Regions from separate parts of the Homo sapiens genome. Here regions 1, 2, 4 and 5 are each linked to region 3. The links are contacts of gene promoters, found by promoter capture Hi-C in human tissues and cell types (Jung and others, 2019). All regions are on one chromosome and are shown on one strand. The core of a region is centred on a gene start or on the middle of the fragment in contact, and the rest is flanking DNA. Distances in the headings are between cores, read along the strand shown. Region 1 overlaps DSC2 (desmocollin 2). Region 2 holds the start of DSC1 (desmocollin 1). Region 3 holds the start of DSG2 (desmoglein 2). Region 4 has its middle 61 kb from the start of DSC1. Region 5 overlaps DSC2 (desmocollin 2).

Region 1 (3,959 bases), core at 783-3,282, 420 kb before region 3:
CCAGCCTGGGCTCTGTCTCAAAAAACAAAAAGTGTCTTGAAAGTTACTTTAAAGGGTATTATTTGAATTCAAGAAAGGACTTAAGACTTACAAAAGAGCAATGCTATGCCCAACAATATTGCAAGGATGGCCCACTTTCCAAGTTGTACTCCTCCACCGCCAATCCTTGGATCTACACGATGTGTGCAGTCATTTTCGGTAATGCAGTCACACAGTGTAACATCCAATGAAGTGACACTAGACATGCCAAGTCTATCTCTCACTGTTATAGGTACTACATATGAGCCAAATGGAGGATCATTCTGATAGGAAAGACGTGCTGCTGTATCTGAAAATATAAATAAATAAAACCAAACATTATACAATGTCACTGATTTCTTCTGAACATAAATAACTCATTATCAGATAGTTATATTTTCCTAGAAACAGATATTCCTGATGGGATGGCATAGCTGCTAGAAGATTCTAAATGTGAATGGCTAGAGTAGTTCTAATCTATACCCATTGCAAACATATTACATATAAAAGTTTGTCTATGCTGCCTCTTAAACAAAGTCTTTTGGCTCTTGTAATAATATATTTTATTTGTGTGTAAACAAATCCTTCCTATCACAACTAATAGACTTGTTAATAGATTAGTTTTTACCATATCTTGAAAATATTTAATTAAACCAGTGAGTGTACATTTTCTTTTACACATGCTTCATCGAAGTAATAGTCTGAAATTCTGGATGTTTTCCTTTACTTCATTTTCAAAAATTGTGCCAAATAAACATAAATACTTGTGACTTACTGTCAGAGACTAATTCTGACAACTTAAAACACCCCTGACAGTGACTACATTAGCAGGTCATGAGTCACACAGCTGCAGCTGCATCTCCTGGTCCTAAAGGACAAAGGGACCAACTGCACGTGTCTTAGTTTTGATGTAGTTTTCTTAGATAAAGGCTAGAAAATATCTAGAACCGAAAGCCCATACAGATTCTTTTATGGCTTTTATGGTGCATAAGCATGATGATAGGGTTTTTATGCTCATGTGTGAGACACACGTCTCTCAAACCTTATTACGACAACAGTACATTACCTGTATGACTTGAATTTAGAAGAAGAAAAAAACAATAAAAAACTAAAAAAAATTTAGAAGCCAATACAATCTTGGTTTTGGAGACTAGATATACTACTACTCTAAATGCAGATACCAGGTCCCATAGAATAATCCCTCTCCCACATAGCTGCCCAGTATGACATTCTCATTTTCTGCATAGTATTTGAAGCTCTAAATACAAATTTGAATGCTTGGGTAAAAACACATTGAATTAAGTCCATCTTAAGAGAAGCCATGGTTAACCTGTTAAGTCTATTTTGTAAAAAATTATAATGAGACTAGCAAAACCAAAACTTATAATTCCTAATGTGTCATGGTGTATTACATGCATTATCTCATTTACTCCCCCAAAAATCCCATTTTAGTAAATTGATGCTCAAAGACAATAAATAGCACGGTCAGATTTACTTAACTAACAAACAGGGAAGAACCAGCGTTTTTGACACTAAGCTTAACTGACTTCAAAGCCTCTTTAGGGTATATTCTTCTTAAAACTTGGGTGTTTCCCAAGCTTATAAGTGATTACTCAGACAAGTACATCTTTAAAATAACAAAGATGTTGACAAACATACAGCTGCCAAAGTTTTATTTTGCTAAGTAAGACTATTGGGAAAAAAAAATGTCCACTTTCTATCAACACTATTTAAAAATTAATATCATGACACCAAATAAGTAGAAAAGAAAAAAATCTAAGAATAAAGTTAATTCTTCCTCCCCACCCCAAAATAAACTGATAACCCCGATACACACACACGCACACACACACACACACACACACACACACACGCACACACAACAGAATATTGTTTAGAAAGCTGAAAATCTTGTTAGTTCACAGAGCAGGATCCAAGACATAGTAGTTTAGCTTATTTCTATAAGTCTTCATCTTTCTTTTCCCCATCCTGTTCTCCCTTTACGTTCCCTCATAACCTTTCTTTTCTAATTTGTCATAACAGGAAATTGAGGGATATTCACTGAAAGCATGGGGCTGAAAAACATTCAAGGGCATTTAAAAAGCAAGCCTCATTCAGTGGTTCTAGAGTCACGAAAGCTGGTAGACCATGACATCATGGTCCATAGGCAGTGTGAGCAGGAGATGGGGAACATGCTGAAGAGTTACGCGCCAACTAGGGAATGAGGCAGTGGTGATAATGTAGACAGGTTGCCTTCATTTTTGCCATACTTATCACTGTAGATCCTTCTGGGCTAAAGACAAAAGTACACATGGGGAACCGAGTTAGGGGAGAATCCCAAGGAGAATACAATAGACATGAAATAGTCAGAAGTCAATACAGTGGCAGAGAGGAGAGATAACGTGGTGGACACTGTGGTGTATATCTGATCCCTTTTCAAAGAAGGACTTGCATCCCAGCTGCTTGGGAGGCCATCAGCACCTTCCGGGATTGTGCCTTTTTGCCATGGGCAGCCCACATACACTGATGGAACAATAAGAGAGAATAGGGGATCGATTCAGGACCACTCTGAAGGCCCATTTAGCTCAGACTCCCCCTGGGGTTCACTGAGGTTGTCATTTGGCTTGTGCTGCAGCTTGACTTCTCTTTTTGCCCAATCCTACTTCTCCTCCTTTCAAAGCTACTGATCCCAAGCAAATTCCTTAGTCATCATTCTGCTTGAGATGCCCTGCCTCAGGGTCTGCTTTCTGGAGAGCCAACCAGTAACAAATGAGGACTCCCTTATGACCCAGGAAACTATAAAGAAATCTATGCCAGTGAGAGGTACACAAGTTAGGAAATGACTGCATTAGACCAAGTCTAAGAGAGAGAAAGAGAGAAAGAGAAAAAATGTGTGTGTGTGTGTGTGTGTGTGTGTGTGTGTGTGTGTGTGTGTGTTTGGAGTAGGAGGGAGAATTCACAACACACCTAAGGGAATCTCGGCATAGGATTAGAGACACACTAGAGAGACCTACTCCCAACACACAAAAACTGAGAAACTTTCATTGGTGTTTCCCACATGGTGAATTTTCTCCTATTTCATACAAAAAAAAAAAAGTATCGCAGACATCCTGATGTTGAAAAGGACAAAGCAATTTTCAAAAATATATACCATTAATTGCTTTCAGTCTCCACATTCTCTGTACTTCTGAAGTAGAACTCTCCAGACTAAAGTCAAAGGGTGGGCCATGGATAGGCTCATCAGGATCAACCGCAACAATCTCCGCAGATGACATGGTGGGTTTGCAGATGATCACTGTCTTTTTAGGTATGAATGGGCTGTTATCATTCACGTCTTGAAGTATAATGCCCAGTGTCCCCGTACATGTTCTCCCTCCTAGAAAAATGAAAATAAAAATAGTTTTTCTATGTTTTGAGTTTTCACCACAAAAGTATGCACTGAACACATTGAAAAATATTTATTAAGCACCTATAATGTAGAAGTTACAATGACAAGCAGTCACAAGCTATGTCCTCAGGGAATGTTACAAGAAAAATAGTATTACTTTCATATGGGTTGTACAAACAATGACTGCTATTAAGATGTGTTTATTCATTCGCTAAATTATTATTAGAGGCAAGTTTTGGCTGATTTGTGAGAAGAGGAAGGAAGAGAGTATGAATGAGGACACTTCTGGTATATTTAAAAGCACAAGGAAATTCAAGGAGATGGAAACGCACGTTATACACACCCGTGATCTGGAGACAATGACAGGGAAGGTAGACAGGTAGAAACTGACATGGAAGCAGGAGCTAAGGGTCTTTGAAAGCCAGACTAGGGAGCTTAGAGTTTGTTGGATAAATAGGTAGCACTTAGGTTTTGGAGCAAAGAAACTGAAGTTACATATTTGAAAGATTGTAACAAAAATAGTACATGGGAATATTCAAAGGGCAGAAGACTC
Region 2 (3,643 bases), core at 100-2,599, 340 kb before region 3:
CCATTCATTAAATACTATTCCCGTCTTCAGGTTAAATCACTGACTAAGTGGCTTAGTGACACCCTTTTAGTCAGTTTCAGAGTCAGAAATAAATAAACAGGAGATGAATTGTCCAAGAGATATTAGACAGTACAGGGATCAGAAGCAAAAGAAATGTGGGTAGAATCCTTTGAAACATTTTTACCACATTTTACCAAACTTGTACTAACTTAAGATGGTATCTGAGTTATCGTCTCCCTAAGCAGTTACAGGATGAGAAGGTGACCATCAACCCTGCATTGTATATTATTTACATGGAGAAAATGTTTGTCCTCATACCTGCCATTTCTAAAAATATATTTTGAAACTCAAGTATTTTGCTAAAATGAAAAAATAGGAAACTCACACCTCAGAAATGATGGACGGATGTGTGAAATAACCCCCCTCTCTTCCCTCACCTCCAAAGAAAAAATAGCACCTTACACAGTTACAAAGCTATTAAAAACCCAAGTGGAAGCCAAGTTGAGGATATTTTCAATGACAGTCACATTTTTGTTATTTTTCTTAAACTATTCTTTGCTTAAACTGCTTCGTGGGTAAAATTCAAAAAGTCCTGGATAATTTGCATGTTCACCCAGAATCCTTTCTCTTTTTTTGCAGCTTAGTAGAACTCAGCATGTTAAATAACATGAGTTTATGTAATCACTGGTAGCAGAAGTAAACCTCAGAAACTTCTGGGCCAAATGCCTAAAGAATGAATTCACTTCTCTACTCTTAGAAAATCACCACAGCAGGATGGAAGAGGGATTCCCTTGAAAACTTTTAACACTCTGGCAGTGGGTGCTTGAGAAGTAAGCTGAACACTTTCCATCCTGAATCCCAAGCCTCTCAACTCTTCCCTGAATCTTCCTCAGATCTGCTTTTGTTTTCCCCAATCTCTCTTCTCTGCCTCCCATCCTCACTCCTAGTCTCTTTCAAGCCCAAACTGCAGAGAGGAAGCAGGTAGTAACATGCTTGAATTCCCTAATCCTTTGGTTGTTACTCACCAGGAGAGAGAAAAGGAGCTGCTTACAGAAGATGCTCCCTGGGGCAGCAGAGGCCAGAGCCATCAGAAGCAGTCCCAATGGCCAGGGACGGTGGCCAGATAACAGGGCAGCCTGGGATGCACAGAGCGGCTAAGAAGACGCTGGCACTTGCACAGGGTATTCTGCTGCCACCTTGATGCAGCTGAGCTTGGTTTGGAAGACAGTCCGGAGGCAAGTGATAAACAGTAGGAGGAGCAACGGGAGAATTTCTTTCCCCCTATTCCCTGGCCAGTCTCCTTCCTTCCAGTTCAATTACGTCTAAATGCAAAGAGGCTTTCCTACAAGTGAGGAGGGTGGGGTACAAAACACCCCAAAACCCAGTCAGTAGCTCCTCCTCACAGCAGCTTTCAAAATTTCTCTTGCCACTTAACACATAGGCAGAAGGAGGAGGGAACACCCTTCATCCTCAGCCCTCCTCCCTTTCCCCCAGGTTGATGCTGTGAAGTCCTCCCCAGTTATTACCCACTCCCACAGCCTCCCCTCCTTCTTGGCCTTATTAACCTGTCTTGCCCTCGGGTACAAACATAAATTGTGCACAAACGCCATGCAAGGAAGTGATGCCTCCTCAACTGCCATTGGCAAATCAGAGGACCTAAGCGTGTGTAATCACACTCATCAGAAGTTATCTCCCATCTAAGCATTTAAGTGTCATCGGTCCTGTAGAACACTGTAGTTCTGCTAGAGAACTGGCATTCCAGTTTAAAGCAGCAACTTCATAAAGGCATGGTATCTACTTCCTGTTATTGACTATTCACTGTGGTTGGTTCTCTAGATGTCACAGGAAACTTATCAGAATGTAAAGACTTCATAAAAGAAAGAGAATAAAGAAATAGCTAGCATATAATCTTTCTTGTGGCTTTCCTTTTGTTGTACAAGATGCCACTGCTTTTTACCTTTATATTTTTTCAAGGACAACTACAATCTTTGAGAGCAAGTCTCTCTAAAATCACTCTATTCACCCTAATTACTTGTACATTACACATAGGATATCCTAGCTTAATAGTACAATCAGGCCATCAAGTGTAGATTTTTTTAAACCCTAATGATTCCTCTAACAAGAGCTTTAGCATCATTATTCCTGTCCCAAATTAGTGAGCTCAGTGATACCAATTGCACTCAATGGCAGTGATGGAAGTTAGGACAGAAGGATAAATATTTTCAAATGTTAAGGTAGAGCCCAACACCCATGCTGCTGAGAAGGGAGGAAAGAAAGGTTTTCTTCAGCTTATTTGACAATGGGAACAATTTCTCCTTGTATGTAGAGACAGAAATAAATGTAACTGCTTCATTAGAATTAGAAGCTAGGAAGATTTGGAAAATGAATGACCCAGGAGAAAAAAAACTAAAAGATATCTTGTAGTATTTTATTGCTAGTGGTATACCCACTAATAAACATATTTTGTGACTGCATTGGAATTTGATTTCTCAATCAGAAAATACAGTCATTTTAATGGAATATTTTTATATCTGGCGTTTTGGGAGAAAAGAATGGGAATATAGAAATAGAAAAATTACTTAGATGTATATGTGTACAGCCAAGTGTAATTCTGTGCATGTTTAAGCATCATCTAAGTATATATTTAGATAGATAGATAGACAGATAAATAGATAGTCATACAGCTTAAATAATTCAAAGACAAATTCTCCAACCCTAGAAAATAGAAACACATTTTTTTCAGCTAATGAAGTTATCATTACCTTTTTCTATAACATGATATTCTCCACTGAACTAGGAAGATATAGAAGAGCAAAATTAAATTGGTGTTACTGAAAAAATGGCATATATTGGTTGGATGAAGAGATTCCAGGCACTGCTCAATTCAAATGAATCCAGAATACTCTCCACAGTTCTGGGAAGTTGATGTTCTGATCCTACTTCTTTTGGCCTACTTTCTGCGTGCTCTCTTTTCCCATTATCTATCTTTCTCAAAGGTAATAGAAAAACTTGTGTAAAAGCTAACCCCAAATTATTGGTTTGCAAATCTGTTACATTACTATTTCTCCCATATTTTGTATTTGCACACAAAGGTTTCCTAAAAATAAAATATAGGCACTTTATAGGAAAAAATAATTTATTATTACAAATTATTGACTCTTCCTTAAACGTGAATCTACCTTAAAATTAAATGAAAACAAGACATATTTCTTCCAATTTTCTGGCATTAGATCATTCAGTAAGAGCTCTGTCTTAGTCTGTTTTCTGCTGCTGTAAAGAAATACCATAGCCTGGGTAATTTATTAAAAAACAAAACAAAACAAAAACAGAAATTTGTTTGGTTCATGGTTCAGGAGCCTGGAAAGTCCAAGAGCATGGCATGGGCATCTGATGAGGGTCATCCCATGATGGAAGGCAGAAGACAGAAGCCAGTGCACAAGACAGACAGGGAAGTGGCCTAACTTATCCAGTTATCAGAAGTCCACTCTGATGATAACTAACCCACTCCCGAGGGTGGGGACTTCATGGCATAATCAACTTTTAAAGGTCCCACCTCCTAACACCATTACAACGGCAACAAAATTTCAACATGACTTTTGGCAGGGACATTCAAACCACTGCAAGCTCTATTTTATTTTTATTT
Region 3 (3,911 bases), core at 1,223-3,722:
AACCTGGACTTTCTTTGACCAAACCAAGCCTTGGTACTCTGGGGTTTCTCCTGCCAGACAATTGTCAACACATGCTCCAAATCAACAACATTACCCCCAATGAAACACAATCTCTTTCCTACTTTTATAACACATTAGTACACTATGATTACAGTAACTCCATTGCTGTCCCCTGCGGGGCCCTCTGGGTATGCGGATCCTATGGGTAGCGATACCTGCCCCCATATTGGATGGGGATATGCACTTGGGGGTGGCCATTAATTCCATTCACCATCCGGGATAATATTCCCCTCCCCAGTAATCTAGATGCTTACAAACATCCCTGGTTAGAATGCATCCGACTCCGTAGGGGTGGTATCCTATCACAGCATTCTCCCCTGCAGCTGATACAATCCTGCTTCAGCAACAAATTAAAACATTAAGCTCACTTCTAAGAAAAGCTCTTAATGATAGTAGCACTGGATGTATGTTGTTATCAGATGAATTTGCTCAGCTATGTACTGTTGTGTTGCAAATGGAAAGGCATTAGATATGCTTACTGCAGCCCAAGGAGGGGTTTGCACCTTACTGCACTGGATGTTATGTGTATATCCCTGACAATTCTCACAATATTACTCTCCTTGCAAAGCCATGATGGGTGTGTTATTAATTTTGCTTTTAATTCTCCTGTGCTTACCCTGTATCTGTAATCTCTATCAACTATGCCTTCCCCATGTATCTGTAGGGGTATTTTCCTGCGATTGAGTATCAGATTGAAGCCGAATGTGGAGGAAAACTTAAATATTAAATTTGAACTCAATTGAACATGGACACAAACAATGGCCACCAAGTCCCAGAACAGGTGGTGTGAGCCCCTTGAGGAATTCATCGAGCGCTGTTTCAAATAAATCTCTATTTAAATTCCTATTTGTTAGTTATTGAAACACAACAGACAATCGCAAACACAAGTTGACCTTTTTGTGTTCCTTGAGTCCAGTCGGGAAGGGCCCTTGTGACTGGGTCTCATGCCAAACAACTTGTTACGATAAGAGCTAGGGTCCCAGACCATGAGGAAACTTCATGAGAATCCTCTGTAGTCTGGTGAGTGTAGTGTCCGACTCTGGAGCCCAGGCTGTTGCTTCCCGGTGTGGTGGTGAATCCTCCACAGTCTGGTGAGTGTACCTATAAATATATCTTTTCCTTCTCCCCTTCCCATTGCAATTTGCTTATTATATCATTTGCTTATTATATCCGCGTTGCCATTTAATTGGGATAAAGGTTGTTTACCCTTAAAAGTATGGTGTGTGTGTCTTTTCTTCTCCCCTTGCGCCTTTCTCGCACAGAACAATAGGCTCGTCCATTACTTTCAGTCGTTACATTTCTTGGAAGTTTCGTAATCCGGTGCTGATTCTAGTGTTTGGATGCCCATACTAAGTTTCTGCTTTTCAAGATGTCAATTTAACATCTCACCTCGCAATCACGTTGTTCTAATTTTAACAATTATTTATTGAACCCTTAAGTTCTAGACACTGCAGAATGCTTTACCTAAGATTTTCCAATTTCGTTCTCAAAACTTCCCCGTGCGTTGGTCGCTATTAACTCCATTTGACAGATCTGGAAACTGGGGCCCAGAGAGGCTAGTCCAGGCCACTCAGCTAGTCACTCTTGGAGCGGGGCCTCTGATCTAGCTAGTGGTGTAATAGAAATTGTAAATCATTTCAAAGAATATATATATTTCCCGTAACACCCTAGAGTTTTCTCCTAGCCCAAGAATTGTCCTTTTTGACCTCTGGTGATTGTTTCTCCTTGAGCCAGATAAGCTGCAAACCTGTTGGAAGCAGTGAAGGGCCATAGGGAAGAGCAGCCTTTGGGGAGACAGCCACCTGAAATTCTGCTCCACAACCTCCGCTCCAGGAGAGCGGGCCGAACGCACCGCGGTCGCAGCTTTCCTGAGGACACGGGTCCCCATGTCACTAGCGACACCTGCGCTCCGGGCCCAAAGCACAATCACAAAGTGCGGGACCTTTGGGCGGTGCTGGGCGGCCTGGCCCCGCAGCCACTGGGCCGGTTGGTCCCGCAGGACTCTGCTCCGTGGAGCTTTTGTCCTTGGGCCGGGGCCCTGCGACCCGCGCTACCCAGGTCGAGCCCCGCCAGGAGGCTCCCTCCTCCCGCCATTCTCCAGAGAGTAGGGGGTCGGGAAGGAGAGAACGGCGGGGCGGGGCCTGCCACCCACAGTCCCCAACCCAAGGACGTCACGGTCCCAGGTGCGAGTGCGAGCGGGCGGGAGTCCACCCCGCGCCTCCCTCCTCTGCTGAACTCCCCACCTCTGTAAAAGCGGCCCGGGCCGGCCCCCGGCTCCATTTTCTCGCGGCGGCCACACCTGGAGCCGCGCCTTTGGGTTGGGCTGGGCTGGGCCGCGCAACCGCCACGGGAAGACAGCCCTCGGGGCGGGGAGGGAGAGGGTGGCCGGGCCGGGGGGAGGCCGGGGCCAGGGAGGAGCCGAGTGCGCGCTCGGGGCAGGCGGCGGCGCGGAGCGGTGCGGCGGCGGGAGGCGGAGGCGAGGGTGCGATGGCGCGGAGCCCGGGACGCGCGTACGCCCTGCTGCTTCTCCTGGTAAGTGCCGCAAGCGGGACAGGGGAGCCACCGCCGGGGAGGGCGTCGGTAGGCGAGGTCTAGACCTCGCGACCAGACTTGCCCGCCGCCCTTGTGCGCGTTACCTGCCCGGCGCTCCTTCCTGCTGCCCGAGGGGGGAAAAGGGCCGGGCAGGCTGCGGCGAGATCCGACCTGGGGCTTCGGAAAATCCTCTTGGCTGGAGCCAGGAGAGTAAGTTGCGACCTATCGAAGTTGTGTTTTCCTTCCCGCGTCACCCAGGCCCCAGCGCCCTTTTCTGTGGTGTGTGGGTGTAGTGAGCCCTGGGGCGGGGAACACCATTGCTGGGGGTCGGAGGCTTTGTTGAGAGTCTCTGGGACGAGAAACGTGGAGGCAATAGGGAACAACCTCGCGCTTCTTCCACGTTCCTTAAATTTCCCTAGGATTCCCCAGCTCCTCTAGCCGCCGACACAAGCCAGTGAACTGGGGAAACCAGGAACATACTTGTATTCTTAGAGTGCAAAAAGTTGGCTAAAAATTTTTTAAAAAGGTGTAATTTACAAAGCTTAATTTTAAGTGGATCACCCACATATAGTTTTAACTTAAAGTTTATGAAGTTGGTGTTTCAAAAGTTTTCCAATATTAAAGATAATAAACATATGTAATAGTTTGAAGCCTTATTCATTTAAAAGGTTACAGAAAATGGAAGTGTAGCGCCCCCTCCCCCACGCCCCACCCCTCACTCCCGGAAACGACGTTCAGTCCCTGGATTTAGAGTTCTTTTGCTCAAATTGGATTTTAAACTGTTGGTTTTCTGTTTGTTTAAGGGGTTGCACGTATGTATCTCGCTTATAGGGGTTTACTAAAGGGGTTTTAATAAAGTGACAGTTATGCTGCAAATATAGGTGTGAGTTCACCTTCCAGAGAGTTCACAAATATGTGTTTACAGAGATTAGATGCAAAATCATACTCAGTTTTCTTACGTAATAATTAAAAATGCAAATACATTCACTATATTCAAAGTTCTAACTTCCAAAACATGAGCCCTTCTATCCTCGAGTTTTGGTGGGATGTGGAAGAAAATCGTGTGTGTGTGTGTGTGTGTGTGTGTGTGTCTCAAAACGGAAAAAGGCGTGACTGAATCCAGTCTAGAGATTTCCATGAACTCTCAGGTGGAAGAGCATGATAATTAGGGCGTCCAGGCCTAGCACACAGTTCATTTTCATGCTCTATTTATCCATTTCATTTTCCCCGTGTCCTTGAGGTAACTTTCAATGAAAATTCATTTTGTTGACAAAACTTTTCTAAGACGTGATCTGGGACGTCGTTTTTAGCCTCTGGGC
Region 4 (4,077 bases), core at 238-2,737, 270 kb before region 3:
ACTCATCCAAGAAGCTCCTAGATCTGATAAATATGCAGTAAAGTTTCAAGATACAAATCAATGTACACAAATCCGTAGCACTGCTATACACCAATATTGACCAAGCTGGGAGTCAAATCAAGAACTCAACCCCTTTTACAATAGCTGCGAAGAATAAAAAATACTTAGGAATATGCCTTACCAAGGAAGGGAAAGATCTCCACAAGGAAAACTAAAAAACACTGCTGAAAGAAATCAGATGACACAAACAAATGGAAACATATCCCATGCTCATGGATGGCTAGAATCAATATTGTGAAAATGACCATACTGCCAAATGCAATCTATAAATTCAATGCTATTTCCATCAAAATACTATCACCATTCTTCACAGGGATAGAAAAAACAATCCTACAATTCATATGGAGCCAAACAAGAACCCACATAGCCAAAGCAAGAACAAATCTGGAGGCATCACATTCCCCAAATTCAAATATAGTACAAGGCTATAGTTACCCAAACAGCATGGTACTGGTATAAAAATAGGCATGTAGACCAATGGAAGATAATAGAGAACCCAGAAATAAAGCCAAATACTTAAAGCCAACTGATCTTTGACAAAGCAAATGAAAACATAAAGTGGGAAAAGGACACCCTATTCAACAAATGGTGCGGGAATAACTAGCAAGCCACATGTAGAAGAATGAAACTGGATCCTCATCTCTCACCTTACACAAAAATCAACTCAAGATGGATTAAATACTTAAATCTAAGACCTGAAACCATAAAAATTCTAGAAGATAACATCAGAAAAACTCTTCTAGACATTGGCTTAGGCAAAGAGTTCATGGTCAAGAACCCAAAAGCAAATGCAAAAAAAGCAAAAATAAATAGATGAGACTTAATTAAACTAAAAATCTTCTACACAGCAAAAGAAATAATCAGCAGAGTAAACAGACAATCCATAGAGTGGGAGAAAATATTTGCAAACTATGCATCTAACAAAGGACTAATATCCAGAATCTACAAGGAACTCAAACAAATCAGCAAGAAAAAAAGGAACAATTCTATCAAAGAGTGGACTAAGGACATGAATAGAGGGTTCTCAAAAGAAGATATACAAATGGCCAACGAACATATGAAAAATGTTCAGCATCACTAATTACCAGAGAAATGCAAATTAAAACCACAATGCTATACCACCTTACTCCTGCAAGAATGGCCATCATTTAAAAATAAAAAAAAATAGATTTTAGCATGGATGTGGTGAAAAGGAAACACTTTTACACTGCTGGTAGAAGCAGCAGTGTACAATTGTATACAAGTCCCAGTGCCTAGGCCACAGACCGGTACTGGTCTGTGGCCTGTTAAGAACTCGACCACACAGCAGGAGATAAGCAGCGGGCAAACAAGTGAAGCTTCATTTGTATTTACAGCCTTTCCCGTCACTCACATTACCACCTGAACTTGGCCTCCTGTCAGATCAGCAGCAACACTGGATTCTCATAGCAGCTCGAACCCTACTGTGAACTGTACATGTGAGGAATCTAGGTTGTGCGCTCCTTATGAGACTCTACTGCCTGATGATCTTTCACTGTCTCCCATCACCCCCAGATGGGACCGTCTAGTTGCAGGAAAACAAGCTCGGGGCTCCTACTGATTCTACATTATGGTAAGTTGTATAATTCTTTCATTATATATTAATATTACAATGTAACAATTAAAGAAATAAAGTGCACAATAAATGTAATGCACTTGAACCATCGCCAAACCATCCCCACCACCCACCACCCCATCCATGGAAAAACCATCTTCCACAAAACTGCTCCCTGGTGCCAAAAAGTTTGCGGACCCCTGATTTAAATCATAAATCATCCAGGTTGTTTCTTACCACAGCATAATGTCACCCATTCTGATGTGTACACATTCTCTAAAAGATATTACAAACACATTATTTAAACCTGTTTGCCAGCCGGCCTGGTGGCTCACGCCTGTAATCTCAGCACTTTGGGCGGCCGAGGTAGGTGGATCACTTGAGATCAGGAGTTCGAGACCAGCCTGGCCAATATGGTGAAACCCTGTCTCTATCAAAATACAAAAGTTAGTTGGGCGTGGTGGTGGGTGCCTGTAATCGCAGCTACTTGGGAGGCTGAGGCATGAGAAGTGCTTGAACCTGGAAGGCAAAGGTTGCGGTGAGCCAAGACAGTGCCACTGCACTCCAGCCTGGGTGATAGAGAGAGACTCAGTCTCAAAAAACAAAAACAAAAACAAAAAGCTTCTTTGCCTGTATTTGCTTATTCCTATAGAGTATTTATGTATACAAGTTTATTCCTTTTTAATGCTCAGTAGTATTCACTTATATATGATTGAATACAATTGAATACTACTGAGCATCAAAAAGGAATAAACTTGTATATAATTGAATATGTGTGTATGTGTGTGTATACAGCATATTTTGCTTAGTCACTTACTAGTTGATGGATAATTAAATTGCTTCCAGTTTTTTGAATATTTCAAAAAATGCATTTAGAGACATTTTCATATTTTTCTTTTTTTTTTTTTTTTCTTTTTGAGACAAGGTATTGCTCTGTTGCTCAGGTTGGAGTGCAGTGGTTTGATCTCAGCTCAATGCAACCTCGGTCTCCAGGCTCAAGCAATTCCCCCATCTCAGCATCCCTAGTAGCTGAGTAGCTGGGACTACAGGTGCATGCCACCACACTGGGCCAATTTTAGTATGTTTTGTAGAGACAGAGTTTGTCATGTTGCCCAGGGCTGGTCTCGAACTCCTGGACCCAAGCAATCCGCCTGCCTTAGCCTCCCACAGTGCTGGGATAACAGGTGTGAGCCACCGCACCCAGCCAATATTTACATATTTTTCAACTCTAGAATTTCCACTTTGTTTTTTCTAGTAGATTCTTTTTCTTTATTAATAGTTCCCACTTTTTAGCAATTGCCACCACATTTCCTTTAGTTCTTTGAACATGTGTATACTGACCTCTTAAGTTCTTCAAAGATATTTATCATATCTAATTAGAAATTTTTGTCTGCTAAATGCAACATTTAGACCCACTCAGAGACAGTTTTCACTGGCTGTTTTTATGCTAAGTATAATTTACATTTTCCTATTTGTGTTCTTGCATGCTTTATAAACTTTTGTAGAAAACTAGACAATTCGGATAATATATTGTAGCAACTCTGGATTATCACTTTCTTTTTCTCTGAGGGTTTTTTGTTGGGCGTGTGTGTGTGTGGATTTTGTTGTTGTTTGCCTACCTGTTGTTTTTAAGTAACATATCTGAATTAAATCTGAGGAGTTTAGAAGCCCCATGATGTGCAGCTGTTGATGCCTCTGCTTAACTTTTTTATTGTTTTTATTTTTTAAGCTGGTGTCTTAGAAGTGACCCCTGGTTTTGCATAATTAAATGGTCCGTCAATGATTGAACAAAAGTTGTGTTCAAAAACGGTGGGCTATAAGGCTTTCACCCTCTGCTTGTGGATCTGTGTTTAGTTTGGGCAGTTTTCAAGTCTGCGTGGCCTTTTGTTGTTATTGTTGGCCCTCACGTCTCCACCATTCATGCACACAGGCTCCCAGGCAGCCAGGCATGTGTGGAATGTTTATCAAGTGCCTCAATTGCTATCTCCCTGCTAAATATCTTGCTGGTCTTACATTCTGTTACTTGCCCCAACCAGGACCATAACCTCATGCTGCAGGCTTTTCGTGTTCACTGCTGGGTGAGATTTTTCCATCCTCCACTCCAAACAAAATCAGCGGCCTCCAGCAGTGAAGGTGCTAGTTTTCATGGCCATTTGGCCCTGGTAGAACTACTGCATCATCTGAGCTGAGGCAGGGGCAGTGGACAACTTCAGGCAAGAATGCCACAGACTTCCACTGTTTTCCCTAAAATTCAGTAGATTTTTGTGAATATATGTCTCTTACGTTGTTGTTTGCCTTTTGTAGATTTCCAGAGCTTGCTTTTTTTTTTTTAACTATTTTTGTCAGTTTCATAGTTGTTTTTTGGAGAGATGGTTTGTGAATCTCTTCAGTCTTATATAGCTGGCAGTCCTGCCTATTTTCCCTTTTTTATATCAATGAATTCC
Region 5 (3,952 bases), core at 572-3,071, 410 kb before region 3:
TTGCAAAGGCAATTATCTGTGAAGAGAGTAAAATAAGGAGAAAAGTGAAAATAATCTTTTAAAATGAGGTATGCTTCAAATTCATTTTGGCTTTAACTTGGAGACTGTTCAGAACTACAGTATGAGTCTCACCATTTGTTATTGTTCTGGGATATGGATATAATTTTAATGCCAAAGAGGTGCCTAATTTCATGATTCAATATGGCATTGTATGTTTAAATTTATCTCTTTAAATTTATGAAAGATAATTTTAGTTTCTTCATTATTGCTATACTGTTATTCATGAGTGTAACAATTTTTACTGTTATTTTCCCAAACAGCCTTGAAGACTTCTTTATTTTGCTTTGTTTGAAAGGTTCAGGTGCATGGATTTTAAATACAACTTTCTGGATCTTTCTGAACTTGGGATCCTGTAGGATTACCCAGGTACAGTTAACTGGGATATTATCCTATTTTCTACTAATGAGGACTTTAGGCATATCAATGGTTACATTTGGGTAAGTCTTTTCAAAGAATTTTTAATTTAAAAAGGGTGAATCAGAAATGAAACAAATGAATGGTGGTAAACTGTGGTGGAATACAGTTTAATTTTTTTGTTTTTATAATATGAATTTCAATACCAATTTTCTCATAACAGCTATCATAGAAAGGCCAGAACATCCTAGGTACTCAGAAGGCCAGGCCATGGCAATTCTAAACCTAAATACTTTATTCAAAGCTTGCCTGTCTTATTTGATTAATTTGGTCTTCTAATGAATAATTAATTCATCCAAAATAGACATAAAATAATTAAAACTGACTTAAGCAAAATGACCAAGTCCTGTTGGGAAATCAAACCAGCATTAGGTTAAATTCTTTCATATTAACTCACTTTCCAGCATAGGAAATTAACCAGATGATTAAAGGACTGAGTAAGCTTAGGTAAGCACTGTCACACCCCCTACCTGCTCCCCATAAACTAATGCTCTCCCATTGCCAGGGTACTGAGGTTTACTTAATGACTGAACTTCATTTACCTCCTATGATATCTCCATACTATAAAGAGGTTCACAGATCTTTTTGTGCCAACTAAGTAACTGTTCTTGGCCGGGCACGGTGGCTCAGTCCTGTAATCCCAGCACTTTGGGAGGCCGACATGGGCAGATCACCTGAGGTCAAGAGCTTGAGACCAGCCTGGCCAACATGGTGAAACCCCATCTCTACTAAAAATACAAAAAATTAGCTGGGTATCATGGTGCGTGCCTGTGATCCCAGCTACTCAGGAGGCTAAGGTGGGAGGATCACTTGAACCCCGGAGCCAGAGATTGCAGTGAGCCGAGATTACGCCACTGCACTTCAGCCTGGGTGGCAAAGTGAGATGCTGTCTCAAAAAAAAAAAAAAAAAAACTGTTCTTCAAAGTGGTACTGTTGTGGGGGAAAAAAAAATAGTAAAACCATAATACCAGGAACAATCTAATGGAATCCAATATTATTTATTCTATGAAAATATTTTTTGTTTCAAGTCAATTATGTGCTATTAGGGAGTAGCCAGAGCATTGGTGACAAACTCAGAAAGCAGAAAAGGTTACGTGAATTGCAAATGAGAGACAAAATGGCCAAGCATCATCATTGCTAATACAGTACACACATTTTAGACTTTACCTCAAAAGATTCATACTGCTCACGATCTACAGGACGAGTACAATACAAGTTTCCAGTGTCTCTCTCCACATAAAATAAATTCCGAGGTTCTTGGTCAACTCCAGGACCTCTTATGGAATAGTATATGGTATAGTTTTGGGCCGTGTCAGATTGAACCTAGAAAGTAGATATTATATACATGAGACAAATCTTTATTTCAGCAGAGCTTTCATCTATATATTTATGAAATCTCATTGCCATTTTATTAGTTTAAATAATTGCCCTTAATTTATTATTATATATAAATTAAAACAGCAATAGAATAAGAAAGTCCAATTGAGAAATTTCAAGAGCAAGGCATGAGTAAAATAATGTAGTGCATCTTAGTTCTCCAGAATAACTAAAGGAATATTTGACAGGCTAGATGGTGTCTATACATGGAAAAAACACTTAAGACTCTTCCTGTCTTAGAAAACAAAGTATTCTGAGCATGGAAAATTATTCTGTCGTCAATGTTTTAAAAAACTGAGTTTTTATTATATGTAACATAACATTTAAGAACCGAGTTTAAAGTGTACTGTCTGCAGGGCAAAAATGTGGACAATAATTTCCTTAATGAGTTTTTTGTTCTTTGCCAACATCTTCCTTATAGGAACTGAGTAAAAAAAAAAATATGAGTGAGAATAGAAATGGAATAATATTTTGGAATGTGTAATATTCTGATCCTTGATTCGAAAAGCAAATTTCCTCCAAGCTGTGTTCATCCTCTCAGTAACATCCTATCTTTATATCAGGATAACTGACACAACTGTTTTCTAACAATTTCTCAACTTTAATATGCTCTTCTCTCAGCTGTATTAAATTTGTTGGTGGGGTATAAAAAGGATTCTCCCTTGCTATGTCAAGAACTGAGGGAAAATAAACCAAAGTCATAGACTGAATGTAGTAGCCACCAGTAATGGAAGAAGGCAAGAAGGCTTGCTGGGGTTTCTACTGAAAGTTAAAACAAGACAGAGAAAAAGAGCCAGGTATGCTTGGCTCATGCCTGTAATCCCAGCATTTTGGGAGGTTGAGATGGGAGATCATTTCAGCCTAGGAGTTCAAAACCAGCCTAAGCAACATAGTGAGATCTCATCGCTACAAAAAAAAAGAAACAAAAAGAGACAGAGACAGAGAGAGAGAGAAAGAAATGTGGATCCAGTGTGATTTCAGATGTAGATTCAAGAACAAGAAATAGAAAGATAGAAGGGCCTATGTGTCTTCCTCCTTCGTGGCATTTGGTCTTTCATCCAATTTTCTCCTTTATTATGCAAGAGAGTTTTGGGTTTTCTAGCTATTCTTAGGCTTGGCGATACCCTTGCTGATGTGACAATTCATTAAGGAACCATGTGTCTGAGTGCCACAGTTTTATGCTTGGCCTTTGCAAGCTGAACAAAAGTGTATGCAAGTATAAAGAGATATATTTATACCCTTATATGGAAACATATTATACACATACTCATTCACTCACATATTTATACACAACTATTACAAATAACTTCATACTCAGTGTCATAATGGTAAGAGATGGAAACTATAGACTCCCACAGCAGAAAGAAAGAAAACGGTACCTGTTGAAGGAAAAGTGGAAAAGGACCCAAGGAGTTTTCTAGCATCGAACAAGGAATTGGAGCCCATCTTCTCTTGGCGCGCCTTAGAACTTTTTCTTTAGTATGTCTTTTCTTTAGGACCTCAATTCATAAGACAGGAAAAAATAATAAAGTCAATGACTACTTTATTCTCAAACATTAAACAATGACACATCTTTCTCCTCTCAGGAGGATTAGCTGGGTAGGGGTGAGACCATGGGAGTGCTTGAAAACCAAACTAATCATCAACACTGCAAAAAGATAATGAAGAAGTAACTGTCCTAACTGTTATCACAACAATCCTCTTGGGAAAATGATTTGGTGGAAATATGGAAGAAAGAGAGATGGAACTGGAAGCCTAGAAGCAAAACTGAAAAAAAAATTACTGTTGCCCCATTGCCATGCAAAAACATGGGAGAGAGATATGCAAAGAAAATAAGTGTGTATGTGCCCTTCTAAATTTAGCACAAGCAACTTCCACTCACCAGCAACTAGGCAGAGCCAGGGAACCAACAGAGAGATCTGTGTCAGAATGAGGAGAGAAACACGGTGACAACTCTCAAACTGCTGCAGTGAGGAATGGCTAATGGTTGAATACAAGTTATTTTGATCTTGGGTGTCACAACACAATAGCATGCATGTGGTCCAAACCTCCTCCTAAAATAGTTATCTATGTTTTAAGACCACAGATTATGCTAAAATGA

Evidence for each region. Contacts are between HindIII fragments. The study calls those that stand out against the background at their distance.
Region 1: a contact is called between a fragment that was not itself captured here and the fragment with the promoter of DSG2 in region 3, in 1 of the 25 tissues and cell types used here (H1 embryonic stem cells).
Region 2: the fragment with the promoter of DSC1 here is called in contact with the fragment with the promoter of DSG2 in region 3 in 1 of the 25 tissues and cell types used here (H1 embryonic stem cells).
Region 4: a contact is called between a fragment that was not itself captured here and the fragment with the promoter of DSG2 in region 3, in 2 of the 25 tissues and cell types used here (H1 embryonic stem cells and mesendoderm cells).
Region 5: a contact is called between a fragment that was not itself captured here and the fragment with the promoter of DSG2 in region 3, in 1 of the 25 tissues and cell types used here (H1 embryonic stem cells).

The regions. Positions count from the first base shown.
Region 1 is chr18:31,071,514-31,075,472 of GRCh38, forward strand. DSC2 (desmocollin 2) reads right to left here. Exons shown (of 16, transcript NM_024422.6): 12 at 3,170-3,394; 13 at 92-328. It also overlaps the pseudogene LOC124904377. Among named protein-coding and RNA genes, the nearest start is that of DSCAS, 28 kb to the right of the region's middle. The HindIII fragment of the contact is 3,989 bases long and covers 39-3,959 here.
Region 2 is chr18:31,161,507-31,165,149 of GRCh38, forward strand. It overlaps DSC1 (desmocollin 1), which reads right to left and starts at 1,350. Exons shown (of 16, transcript NM_024421.2): 1 at 1,026-1,350. The coding sequence starts at 1,088. DSCAS (DSC1/DSC2 antisense RNA) reads left to right here. Exons shown (of 4, transcript NR_110785.1): 4 at 1,029-1,283. The HindIII fragment of the contact is 13,832 bases long and covers 1-3,643 here.
Region 3 is chr18:31,495,705-31,499,615 of GRCh38, forward strand. DSG2 (desmoglein 2) reads left to right here and starts at 2,473. Exons shown (of 15, transcript NM_001943.5): 1 at 2,473-2,592. The coding sequence starts at 2,548. RefSeq lists an enhancer at 1,863-2,002 and a silencer at 2,203-2,672. The HindIII fragment of the contact is 8,335 bases long and covers 1-3,911 here.
Region 4 is chr18:31,222,229-31,226,305 of GRCh38, forward strand. No RefSeq gene overlaps it. Among named protein-coding and RNA genes, the nearest start is that of DSC1, 61 kb to the left of the region's middle. RefSeq lists an enhancer at 3,246-3,817. The HindIII fragment of the contact is 4,613 bases long and covers 1-3,794 here.
Region 5 is chr18:31,087,798-31,091,749 of GRCh38, forward strand. DSC2 (desmocollin 2) reads right to left here. Exons shown (of 16, transcript NM_024422.6): 4 at 3,231-3,350; 5 at 1,642-1,797; 6 at 1-16. Among named protein-coding and RNA genes, the nearest start is that of DSCAS, 12 kb to the right of the region's middle. The HindIII fragment of the contact is 6,527 bases long and covers 1-3,952 here.